4 separate regions of the Homo sapiens genome follow, and regions 2, 3 and 4 are each linked to region 1. The links are contacts of gene promoters, found by promoter capture Hi-C in blood cells and fetal thymus (Javierre and others, 2016). All regions are on one chromosome and are shown on one strand. Each heading gives the region's core, a stretch centred on a gene start or on the middle of the fragment in contact. The rest is flanking DNA. Distances are from core to core; before and after follow the strand shown.

What was found. Contacts are between HindIII fragments. The CHiCAGO score rates a contact against its expected background, and 5 or more counts as called.
Region 2: a contact is called between a fragment that was not itself captured here and the fragment with the promoter of RCAN1 in region 1, in 2 of 17 cell types (total B cells and naive B cells). The highest score is 7.5, in total B cells.
Region 3: a fragment that was not itself captured here is called in contact with the fragment with the promoter of RCAN1 in region 1 in 2 of 17 cell types (total B cells and naive B cells); the score reaches 5.5 in total B cells.
Region 4: a fragment that was not itself captured here is called in contact with the fragment with the promoter of RCAN1 in region 1 in 12 of 17 cell types (total B cells, naive B cells, naive CD8 T cells and 9 more); the score reaches 16.0 in total B cells.

The regions. Positions count from the first base shown.
Region 1 is chr21:34,613,829-34,616,528 of GRCh38, reverse strand. RCAN1 (regulator of calcineurin 1) reads left to right here and starts at 1,416. Exons shown (of 4, transcript NM_004414.7): 1 at 1,416-1,769. The coding sequence starts at 1,518. RefSeq lists silencers at 1,182-1,611, 1,802-1,901. The HindIII fragment of the contact is 8,899 bases long and covers 1-2,700 here.
Region 2 is chr21:33,937,260-33,939,959 of GRCh38, reverse strand. The region is part of intron 1 of LINC00649 (long intergenic non-protein coding RNA 649); the gene reads right to left. Among named protein-coding and RNA genes, the nearest start is that of LINC00649, 7.5 kb to the right of the region's middle. The HindIII fragment of the contact is 171 bases long and covers 1,201-1,371 here.
Region 3 is chr21:33,901,647-33,904,346 of GRCh38, reverse strand. It overlaps ATP5PO (ATP synthase peripheral stalk subunit OSCP), which reads left to right. Exons shown (of 7, transcript NM_001697.3): 6 at 326-412; 7 at 708-894. The coding sequence ends at 821. Among named protein-coding and RNA genes, the nearest start is that of ATP5PO, 13 kb to the left of the region's middle. RefSeq lists an enhancer at 1,971-2,566. The HindIII fragment of the contact is 980 bases long and covers 881-1,860 here.
Region 4 is chr21:33,918,986-33,921,685 of GRCh38, reverse strand. It overlaps the pseudogene RN7SL740P. Among named protein-coding and RNA genes, the nearest start is that of ATP5PO, 4.5 kb to the right of the region's middle. The HindIII fragment of the contact is 5,747 bases long and covers 1-2,700 here.

The DNA of each region.
Region 1 (2,700 bases), core at 167-2,666:
GGGTTTCTGATTAGTCTTTATAAAGGAGGCAAATCTGTCTCGGTGAAATGCATCTGTCTCAGTGAGCAGAGGGGTGACTTTGAATGGAATGGGAGGCTGGTTGGCTCTAAGCAACTTCCAGCTTTAGTTTTCCTTAGTGATTTTGGGGGCCCAAGATTTCCCTTTCACAGTATGACGGTTCCAATTTCTTCACATCCTCATATCATATTCTATTTTATGAGTTATCTCTAGATGGGTATTATTATTCCTCTTGGGTTTAGCTCCCTGAGGACACAAACTGTCCTAAGACTATGATAATAGTAATCATAGAACCGTGCACATGGCAAGTTCTGAATAAATCTCAGCTGTTGGATATACTTTTTGTTATAATTACTAACACTTCCTAACTAGAGAGTAAGCCTACTCTAAGAAAAAATATAACTGTAATTTCACAACCTCCAAAGAACCCAGTGCATAAACAGCTACCATTTATTAAGCACTGACTGAATTCTTAGTAATATGTCTTCATTTTTTTCAGATGAGGAAACTAAGATTCAGCTTATTTGTACAAGTAGTTAAAAAGCAAAGCTGAAATTCAGACCCAAGTTCTCACTGTATCATACTGTCCAAAAAAGAATTCTATTTTTCAGGAAGAGACATGTCTGCTCACTTGAGGTCCTCTTATTTTTCCGCTATTCCCCAAAGGAAAGGGGTGATCTCTTAATTCTTTCGTTATGTCCTATTGTACATAGCATATAATGGTAATTCAGAAAAATTACTTCTAATTACATAAATTTTCACAATGGTATAGTGACTAATACGCTGAAATAGAAAAGTAAGGCATTGTTATCATGGTCTAGTTCAGTCTTTATTGCGACTATATCTGATAATATACGGTAAGCATCTAACCACTTGCCAGGGGCCACAGAGCCACAGGGAGACTATGTCTCGCTTAAATTCCCAAAAGTGGGCCCCTGTGCTTCAAAACGTCCCCGCATGGGAACCACAAAAACGTTGCCTCCCCAGTTATCACCCCAAGGGCCCAAGAGCCGAGGACTCTGCCCGGCGTCCTTCAGCTGGCACCAGCTGTCAGAAAAGCGGAACTGGGGACGAGGACTTTGCCCCTAACCAACATGGCCGCCCTGAGGCTTCGGGCTTCGGGCGGCAGAAGGAAGGTCACGTGAAGAGAATTCCGTTCCTTTATTGGCCCCGTCTCCTGGAAGGGCGGGGTACAATAACCCAACCGGCGCCGGCCTTAAAGGGGCCACCGTTGGATCTGCCGGTGGCCGGCCCTAGGGGCTGGGGGGGCGGTCGCCGCGCCGGGCTTCTGCCCCTCCCGCGCGGAACGGTGACGGGCGGGGCTGGCGCTGGGAGGCCGTGTCGCTGGGAGACTGCTGACAGCCCGCCGCCTGCCGCCGCGCGATTCCGAGGGGGTTAACGGCGGAGCCGCCGGCCGGGCGCGGACCGGAGCGCGTGAGGCTCCGGCGCGCAAGCCCGGAGCAGCCCGCTGGGGCGCACAGGGTCGCGCGGGCGCGGGGATGGAGGACGGCGTGGCCGGTCCCCAGCTCGGGGCCGCGGCGGAGGCGGCGGAGGCGGCCGAGGCGCGAGCGCGGCCCGGGGTGACGCTGCGGCCCTTCGCGCCCCTCTCGGGGGCGGCCGAGGCGGACGAGGGCGGCGGCGACTGGAGCTTCATTGACTGCGAGATGGAGGAGGTGGACCTGCAGGACCTGCCCAGCGCCACCATCGCCTGTCACCTGGACCCGCGCGTGTTCGTGGACGGCCTGTGCCGGGTGAGGACCGCGCCGGGCGGGCCGTCGGGGCGGAGGGCGGACACTTGTTGCCCGAGGAGGCGGCGCGGGTCGCAGCGCCCAGTCCCGGCCGCGCGCGGGGCGGGGAGGCAGCGACGTCCCCCGGGCTGCTCGGCCGCGGACCCGTCAGGGCTGGGGCGTGGGGACGGCGCCCCGAGGGTCCCGGTCCCCTAGCACCCCCGGGGCGCGCGGAGCTCACTGCAGAGTCCCACAGGCTCGCCCCGGCCCCCGTGTGCGCCCAGGCTGGTGCGACTAGGGGGGTGAATTCGCTCCCCAAGGTGGGGCAGCGCCGCCGCCCCCTGCGCTCTCGCCATCGCCCCGCATTTACTCGCTGGAGGAGGGGGTCACCTCATTCCTAGGGAGGAGGAAACAGACATTGAGCGGCGACGTGACTCAGTGTTCATAAATAGGACGACGTCCCTGCATTCCCAATCTGCACTATTGGAAGAAAAGCCAATGTTTGGGTGAGGATCCGTGGTTGCTCATTAGCCAGCGGCTGGCCAGTTTTGGTGGAATTGTGTTGGGGGGAAGGGGACCATCTTTCAGACCTTTAGGATATTTAGTCAAGAACCTTGCCCCCTTGTGTGAAGGTGTGGCTTGCCGCCATCGGGGACACCCAGTACATGGGGAGTCGACTCCTTCCCCCGCCTCCCCCCACCCCCGCAAAATCCACACAATTTAGACACTTTGGAGGGTGAGGGGCAGGTATGAGTAATCAATAATGGTGGTGGGGAGGAAGAATTTATTTCAAATCTGCAGTTATTGTGCAGAATAAAATGTGGACAACGTGGGCGTCACAGAATGAAACCGGTCTTTGAGAGATGCCCCATTAGGAGAGCAGCTGTCAAAAAAAGCAGTGCTTTCAGCGCTTGGCTGTGGGTCCACAAATGCTGTCAATGAACTATAGTTGAAG
Region 2 (2,700 bases), core at 37-2,536, 680 kb after region 1:
AGCATCATCTTTTCAGGGTGGTAGCATGTGTCAGTACTTCATTCCTTTTTATGGCTGAATAATATTCCATTGTATGGATATGCCAGATATTGTTTACTCATGCATCCATTGATAAATATGTGAGTGGTTTCCACTTTTTTTCCAGTGCAGTGAATCTTATTCTCTGGTTTACCAGCAGAAAGCTGTCACATGAGCTTCCATTATTTGAATTGTTTAAAAAGTGGAACTTGGGGGTGAAGGGGAGTGTGATCACTTCTGGACAGAACAATCGTGTCTTCATCTGCATCAATATTCATTCTGGTAAGTCTTACCAGAGATACTACTGGGGGAACTGAAACATTTGTACCTCCAAAAGAGTGTGTGACTTTAAGTGAAAATTGCTGAGCACCAAAGCCCATTCCATGGATTTTAAAATGCCACGGGATTAGGGGTAATCTTTAGCTTTTATGTTCTGCCAGTGAGAGGGCATTGAGTTTGTAGATTCCCAGGCATGACTGAAGCCAAGTCTCAGCTTATGTGGAACTCGCTTTTCATTCTGTAAACAACATACTCAGGCCTGTGCGTATCAGAGTTTCAGCTTTACTTCTTTTCCCACAGTCCAAGCTGTTGATTTCCTCACTGTATTTTTATGAGTTAGAAAAACATGAAATATCACAGAACTGTGATTACAACATGACTCTAGATGTCCTTGTCTTTTCCTAAATCACACTAAGTTAAGAATAAGGCCAATAAAACAATTATCCAGTTGACATGAGACCTCTGAGTTCAGACTTTTCTAAATGGGAGAGGAGGGGGAAAAAATCCAACTCAGCTGTATGTCGTCTTCTTCTAGATGTTTAACACAATTTTTTTTTTTTTGAGATGGAGTCTCGCTCTGTCACCCAAGCCAGAGTGCAGTGGTGTGATCTCAGCTCATTGCAAACTCTTCCCCCCGGGTTCAAGTGATTCTCCTGCCTCAGCCTCCCGAGTAGATGGGATTATAGGTGCAAGCCACCACGCCTGGCTAATTTTTGTATTTTTAGTAGAGACGGGGTTTCGCCATGTTGGCCAGGCTGGTCTCGAACTCCTAACCTCAGGTGATCAACCCACCTTGGCCTCCCAAAGTGCTGGGATTACAGGCATGAGCCACCGCACCTGGACTATAATTTTAAAATTATCACATATGCCAGCAAAAAGAGTAGAAAGTCTTAATTGAAAGCTTTATCACAAAAAAAAAAAATTTACTAAGTACCTACTATGTGCCAGAAAGAGTAATGAGTTCCATGGTGTCTTGTGATGTAATTGAAAAGATTTAACCATTAAAACCGTCAGAATTTGCCAGGGGCTGTGGGGAAGAAGGAATGGAAAGTGACCGCTAATGGGTATGAAGCTTCTTTGGGGGTGAAGAAAATGTTCTAGAACCAGATAGTGGTGATGGTTGCACAACCTTGTGAATATACTGAAAACCACTGAAATGTAAGCTTTAAAAGAGTACAGAAATTTTACGGTATGTACCATACCATAAAATTGAAAATAATTTTGAATAATTTGAAAAGTGAAATAATAATGACACATCATAGTATCATTAAAAGAAAAACTTCAGCCAAATTAAATTTAAAGGAGTTTAATTGAGCAATGAACAATGCACGAATCGGGCAGCCCCCAGGATCACGGCAGATTCAGAGAGACTCCAGGGATGATCGCTTCTCGGCCTTTTGGCTAAGATCAAGTGTGAGACTCCAGGGATGACTCGGGTCTGAACAAATTTATAAAAAAAAAAAAAAAAAAAAAAGGAAGTGACGTACAGAAATCGGAGGTGAGATTCTGAAACAGCTGGATCGGTTACAGCTCGGCGTTTGCCTTATTTGAACAGAGTGTGAACACTCAGCAGTGTATGAGCGGTTGAAGTAAGGCTGCTGGGATTGGCCAAGACTCGGCAATTGTTACAGCTGCATACTCCTCAATTAGGATTTCAATCTTGTCATAATCCTAAATTAGGGTTTCAATCTGTTTCAAAGTTAGGTTGCAGTTCGTCCACAAGGACTCAAATATGGAAGTAGGAAGTCCGGGGCCGGGCACGGTGGCTCATGCCTGTAATCCCAGCACTTTGGGAGGCTAAGGTGGGCAGTTCACTTGAAGTCAGGAGTTTGTGACCAGCCTGGCCAACATGGTGAAACCCTGTCTCTACTAAAAATATAAAAATTCGAAAAATTAGCTTAGCATGGTAGTGGACACCTGTAATCCCAGCTACTCAGGAGGCTGAGGCAGGAGAATCTCTTGAACCCAGGAGGTGAAGGCTGCAGTGAGCCAAGATCGTGCCACTGCACTCCAGCCTGGGCTACAAAGCAAGACTTCATCTCAAAAAAAAAAAAAAAAGAAGAAGTAGGGAGTCCTTTTCAGGCCATATCCATATATAGTTTGCTTTAACAGTATTTTTTAAAGACTTAAAAAACATGCCTGGGGGTGAGGTAGAGGAGAGATTCTCTTTCAAAACAGTTTTGCTACTGAGCAAAAACTAGAGTCAATTTCCCTGTCCTGTTGCCACTATCCAGATTGGCTGCAGTCCTCCCCTAGCTGTTCCCACTACAGGCCTCTGGCATCCCAAAACCCCCAGCTTTGTCTGGTTCAGTGAACACCCCAGTCCACACACTGCAGTGGAACCTCTCTTAACTGCTTTGCCCCCAAGGATGTATGTTTCAAGAGAACGCTGCCTGGCTTACA
Region 3 (2,700 bases), core at 121-2,620, 710 kb after region 1:
AGAAACTTGAAGGCCTTTCCTTGTTAGTTCCAAGTTGTACTGCTAGCACACAGAGCAGAGGCAGGGAGGGAGTGGCATTTACAGGCCGTCCTTGAACGGCTGAGTGGGAGCTGCCCGGGTGATGCTGTGAGGCAGGGCCTTCCTGTGCTCCCTGAACCTCCAGCGTGAACAAGGAGTGAATGCTGCAGAGCAGCTCCATGATGGGCCCAGGTAGCAAAGGGAGGAGCTCACAAGGCCTGTCTTGGTGATGTGGGCCTGGGGTATTTTAACTCTGGAAGTTTCTGTTTTGCTTTATCTAAATTGAAAGGATGGTTTTGCCTTTCAGCCTTTAGAAGAAGCCACACTCTCTGAATTAAAAACTGTCCTCAAGAGCTTCCTAAGTCAAGGCCAAGTATTGAAATTGGAGGCTAAGGTAGGTTTTAAATTATTTATGGTACGTTTTCTCGGGTTATTTTAAGCTTAAAATGGCTACAGAAAGTACTAGTGAAATATTAGATCTAACTCTATACTAATTTTTCTGTAGTTAAAATTTTGTATTTATTTTAAATTTAAATGATTATCTGACTGTGCAGTTTTACTTTTGCCTTTTTCTAGGTGTAATTATAACCTCTTACATTTGTGCAACACATTTAGCCTTTCAAAACACTTTTTTGTGTGTCCCATTTGATTAGCGCGTTTTCACATTTCCAGTCTTACTTCTTTTGTAGACTGATCCGTCAATCTTGGGTGGAATGATTGTGCGCATTGGCGAGAAATATGTTGACATGTCTGTCAAGACCAAGATTCAGAAGCTGGGCAGGGCTATGCGGGAGATTGTCTAAAAGTGTTGGTTTTCTGCCATCAGTGAAAATTCTTAAACTTGGAGCAACAATAAAAAGCTTCCAGAACAGATCATATTATGTTCACTGTCTTTTAAACTGGAATGTAGAAGGCTTTATTTTTATGTCCTTTTTTGGTATCCCCTGAGTATAAAGGCCAAAAAGCCCTTTTGGCCTAGAGAATTTGGTTTGAGTAGATTATGTTTAGGAATTAATTGGTTAGACACAGCACCTAACACATGGTCACTCAGCAAAGTCTATCTGGTCCTGCCTGCCAAAATCCCGTGTCTTTAAGGGTTTGTTCAGAGTTCCTGGTCCCTACTAGATCATCGGATCTGTGTTTGATCCATAGCCCTCCAGGGAGGCCTCTTGCCCTTGATCCTAACATGAACACACCTAGTTGTAGGCTGCTCTGTAGCTTTCAAGGCCATTTCATGTACATCTGAAGCTGCATGACAGCCTTGTCACACGGGTGGGAGAGACATCACCCCACTTTACAAATGAGGAAAGAGATTGAGGGGCCCTAGAGATGTGCTCAGAGTCACCTGTCTGGACAGCTGGTGTCAGGCCCTACAGCCCATGTTTTTACCACTGTATAACTAACACCATGCGCCGACACGTTGCTGGAGCAAACGGGCAAAAGTTACCTTAGGTAGGTCCCCTGCCCCTTCCCGCTTTGTCCCTAAGATGCTCCCAATTCACCTTTTAACCAAAACCAGTTCCCAGGTCAGCTCTTCCACTACATTTTACCTTTTGGTCTTCTAGAGAAAATAGTTACAGAGTTCCCCACGCAACAGCCCGCTCAGGTGCCTGTTCCTTAGTCAACCTCCAAGAACTTTTGGCCAACAAACCAGTTCCCTTCCCAGAACCACCCCTGGTTGGGCAGAGGCAGGACCATTGCAGCAAAGAAGTCCTACAGAGCAATGACATGGCCCAGCGCTGCTCCCTATGTGCTAGTGCTGGGACTGGCGTGCCCTCCATGTGGCACAACACTCCTGACACTCATGCTTGGCTTCAACTCCAGCTTCCTCCTGGCAAAGCTTTTAATACATGATCACCTAATGTGACAACCAACGGAGACACCACGTGGCCCCTCAGCCTTTCCAGGAACCAGGAGTGCTGAGGCCCCTCAACCTTTCCAGGAACCAGGAGTGCTGAGGCCCCTCAACCTTTCCAGGAACCAGGAGTGCTGAGGCTGCTGGCTGGCCCGAAGACCATTCAGCCACCTTTTAGGTGGGCCTAGGGCTACTCAGCTAGAGACCACATTCTTGAGCCTCTGGCAGCACCTGACCTTGGTGCTGAGTTCTGGCAAATGGGAAAGGAGAGGAAGCGAGGTGTGCCTTCCTGGACTGCCCTCTTGAGCAATCCTTAGTCCATCCCTCTAGCTAGATGCAGACAAGATGGCAAGCGATGCCAAGGGCAGAGCCACCCTGCCAAGCCTTACTGCTGCCCCTGGGCTGTTAAACACGATGAAGAAATAGACCTCTCTTCAAAGCCACGGGATATTGAGTTCTGTCTCCGCAGCTGAGTCTGCAACCTAACCATGACCACATTCCAGGTTCCCCCAGACTCACTGCCTGCCTCCTGCCTGCAGTGAGGCCTGCTCTGCAGAAGGTGGCGTCATACACACAATCACAGCTCCTACAGACATGTGACTGCCAATGGACAAACCGTCTTTGCGGGAGCCTCATGCTGCTGATGCTGCCCAGATCCTTCAGAGTCAAACTCAGCAAGCTTCCTGTTGATCAAGCACATACAATCTTGGGGAATGATGAGGCCCTTCATATGTCGCCTTACGAGGTCACCAGAGAGAACCTAGAGATCTATGTACAATGATTTGTTTTGTTTTTTGAGACAGTCTCACGCCATCACTCAGGCTGGA
Region 4 (2,700 bases), core at 108-2,607, 690 kb after region 1:
ATGGTTTCTTTGTAGAGAAAATAAAACAGCGAGCAATATTTATTTTGAATTGAAGGTCAGTGTAAACAAAAACATCGAGATTAGATGTCCGAGTTTTGCCCTGTGGCCTTGGGCAAGTACCTTTGACTCCATTGGCCTCAACTACTAAAATATTAAAATAACTCATTTTTAAATGATTTGAGTTTGTGCAGAGAGAAAGCGCGATAACTGCAGAGTGCTAAGTCTCTTCACTTCTTTTTCTTTTTTTGTTTTTTTTTTTTTTTTTTTGAGACAGGGTCTCACTCTGTCACCCAGGCTGGAGCACAGTGGTGCGATCTTGGCTTACTGCAACCTCTGCCCCTCAGGGTTCAAGTGATTCTCCCACCTCAGCCTCCCAAGTAGCTGGGACCATACGCCCAGCTAATTTTTTTTTTTTTTTTTTTTGTAGATACATTGTTTCACCATGTTGCCGAGGCTGGTCTTGAACTCCTGAGTTCAAGCCCATCTGCCCACCTCAGCCTCCCAAAGTACTTAGATTGCAGGTGTGAGCCACAGCGCCCGGCCTCTTCCCTTATAGGATACAACTTTTTGTTCCTTTCCAAATGCTCTGTTCTTGCATAGCAGAGGGTGTGGCAGTGTCACAGCTGGGAAGTTTCTGCCAGTTCCCTCCACATGGGAGTTTGCACATGGCGCCCTGGCCTGACATCACAGTGATTTGCCTACAGGCACCCAGAAATCCAAGAGCAGGCAGGAGGGAGGTGTGGATGCAGTGTTATCAGGCTTCAGGGCTTCTGTGTTTCTCCCTTTGCCCACACCACTAAAATACAGGCTAGCTTCAAAATCCCATTCCAGAAACACATCCTGAATGATTCACTTATTCTTTCAACCATAGAGATGGAAAGAGATGGGACTTGGTGCAGGTGCCTGGGTTTGAGATGCAAATTGCCATTTCCTAGACAAGCTGCGTAAGCAGGATCCAAAACGTTTTCACCATCTATAAAATGGGGGAATACCAAGCCCATCTACATCTCGAGTCATCCTAAAACTCAAAATAAAAATGAAACCATATATGTGCAACCAGTTAACAAATCCTAAAATTGAAATGACCATAAACCACTATTTTGGAGATGTGCAAGTGGCTGGAAATTATTCTAGATATGAAAGAAAGTGTGTCTTAATATGTTTAGAAGATTCAGAATTGTTTAAAATGTCAAAAAGTTGGGGGCAGGGCACCAAGCGCGGCGGCTCACACCTGTAATCTCAGCACTTTGAGAGGCCGAGGTGGGTGGATCTGGAAGCCAGGAGTTTGAGATCATCCTTGGGTAAATACAAAATAAACAGAGGGTATTTCTCTGCTGCTGTGCAACCTTACAGTTTACTTATAATTAATTTTTTTTCCTTTTTTCTCCTTATAATTAATTTTCCATGCAGCTTTTCAATTTTCTCTCACCAAGTTGTGTCAGTTTTGGAAATCTATTTCAAAATTTTTCTAGATATAAAAAAAGATGCTTAGAAGATTCAGAATTGTTTAAAATGGCAAAAAAAAAAAAAGTGGGGGTTGGTGGTGCCAAGCAAGGTGGCTCACACCTATAATCCCAGCACTTTGGGAGGCCAAGGCAGGAGGATCGCTTGAGCTCAGGAGTTCGAGACCAGCTTGGGCAACATGGCAAAAACCTGTGTCTACAAAATACAAAATTAGCTGGGTGTGGCTGTGTGCACATGTAGTCCCAGCTACTCAGGAGGCTGAGGTGGGAGGATTGCTTGAGCCTGGGAGGCTGAGGCTGTACTCAGCCATGACTGTGCCACTGCACTTTAGCCTGGGCAACAGAGTGAGGCCCTATCTCAAAAAATAAGCAAATAAATAAAATAAAATGGCAAAAAAAAAAACAAAAAGCAGAAACCATCTGAATTATATTCAGAGTCTAGAGTTTCCCAAGTATAGTTGACCCTAGAACTTTTTATTTGTATTACATCTGTTAACACCCACACTTCAGAAAACACAGGTTTTGCAGTTTAATTTCTCATAGAATATAAAGTTTATAAAGGTAGGCACTGTGTCTTGTATCCTGTTGTAGCCTCAGTGAATAGAACAGCTGGCTACATGTAATAGCTGCTCAATAAATTGTGTTAAATAATGTGTTGAATACTTTTCATTAGGCTTATTTGAAAATAGTCTCTGAAAGTTTGCAGAGTAGAGTGAAACAAGGGTTTTCATGTGCTGCTACGGAAAGTATAAATTGGTTAAAATTTTGAAAAGCAGCTTGGCCTCATGCATCAGAGGCTCTTAGAGTACTCATATTCTCTCACCAAGTTGTGTAAATTCTGGAAATCTATTCGGAAATTTTCCTAAATATGAAAAAAAAAAATGACTGGGCATGGTGGTGTGCACCTGTAGTCCCAACTACTTGGGAGGCTGAGGTAGAAGGATTGCTTTAGTCCAGGAGCTCTCAGCTGTAGTGCACCATGCCGGTCAGGTGTCCACACTAAATTAAGCATCAATATGGTGACCTCCCAGGAGCAGGGGACCACAAGGTTGCCTAAGGAGAGGTGAACCAGCCAAGTCAGAAACAGAGTAGGTCCAAACTACCATTTTTAGGCCGGGCATGGTAGCTCATGCCTGTAATCCCAGCACTTTGGGAGGCCAAGGTGGGCAGATCACCTGAGGTCAGGAGTTCAAGACCAGCCTGGCCAATATGGCGAAACCCCATCTCTACTAAAAAT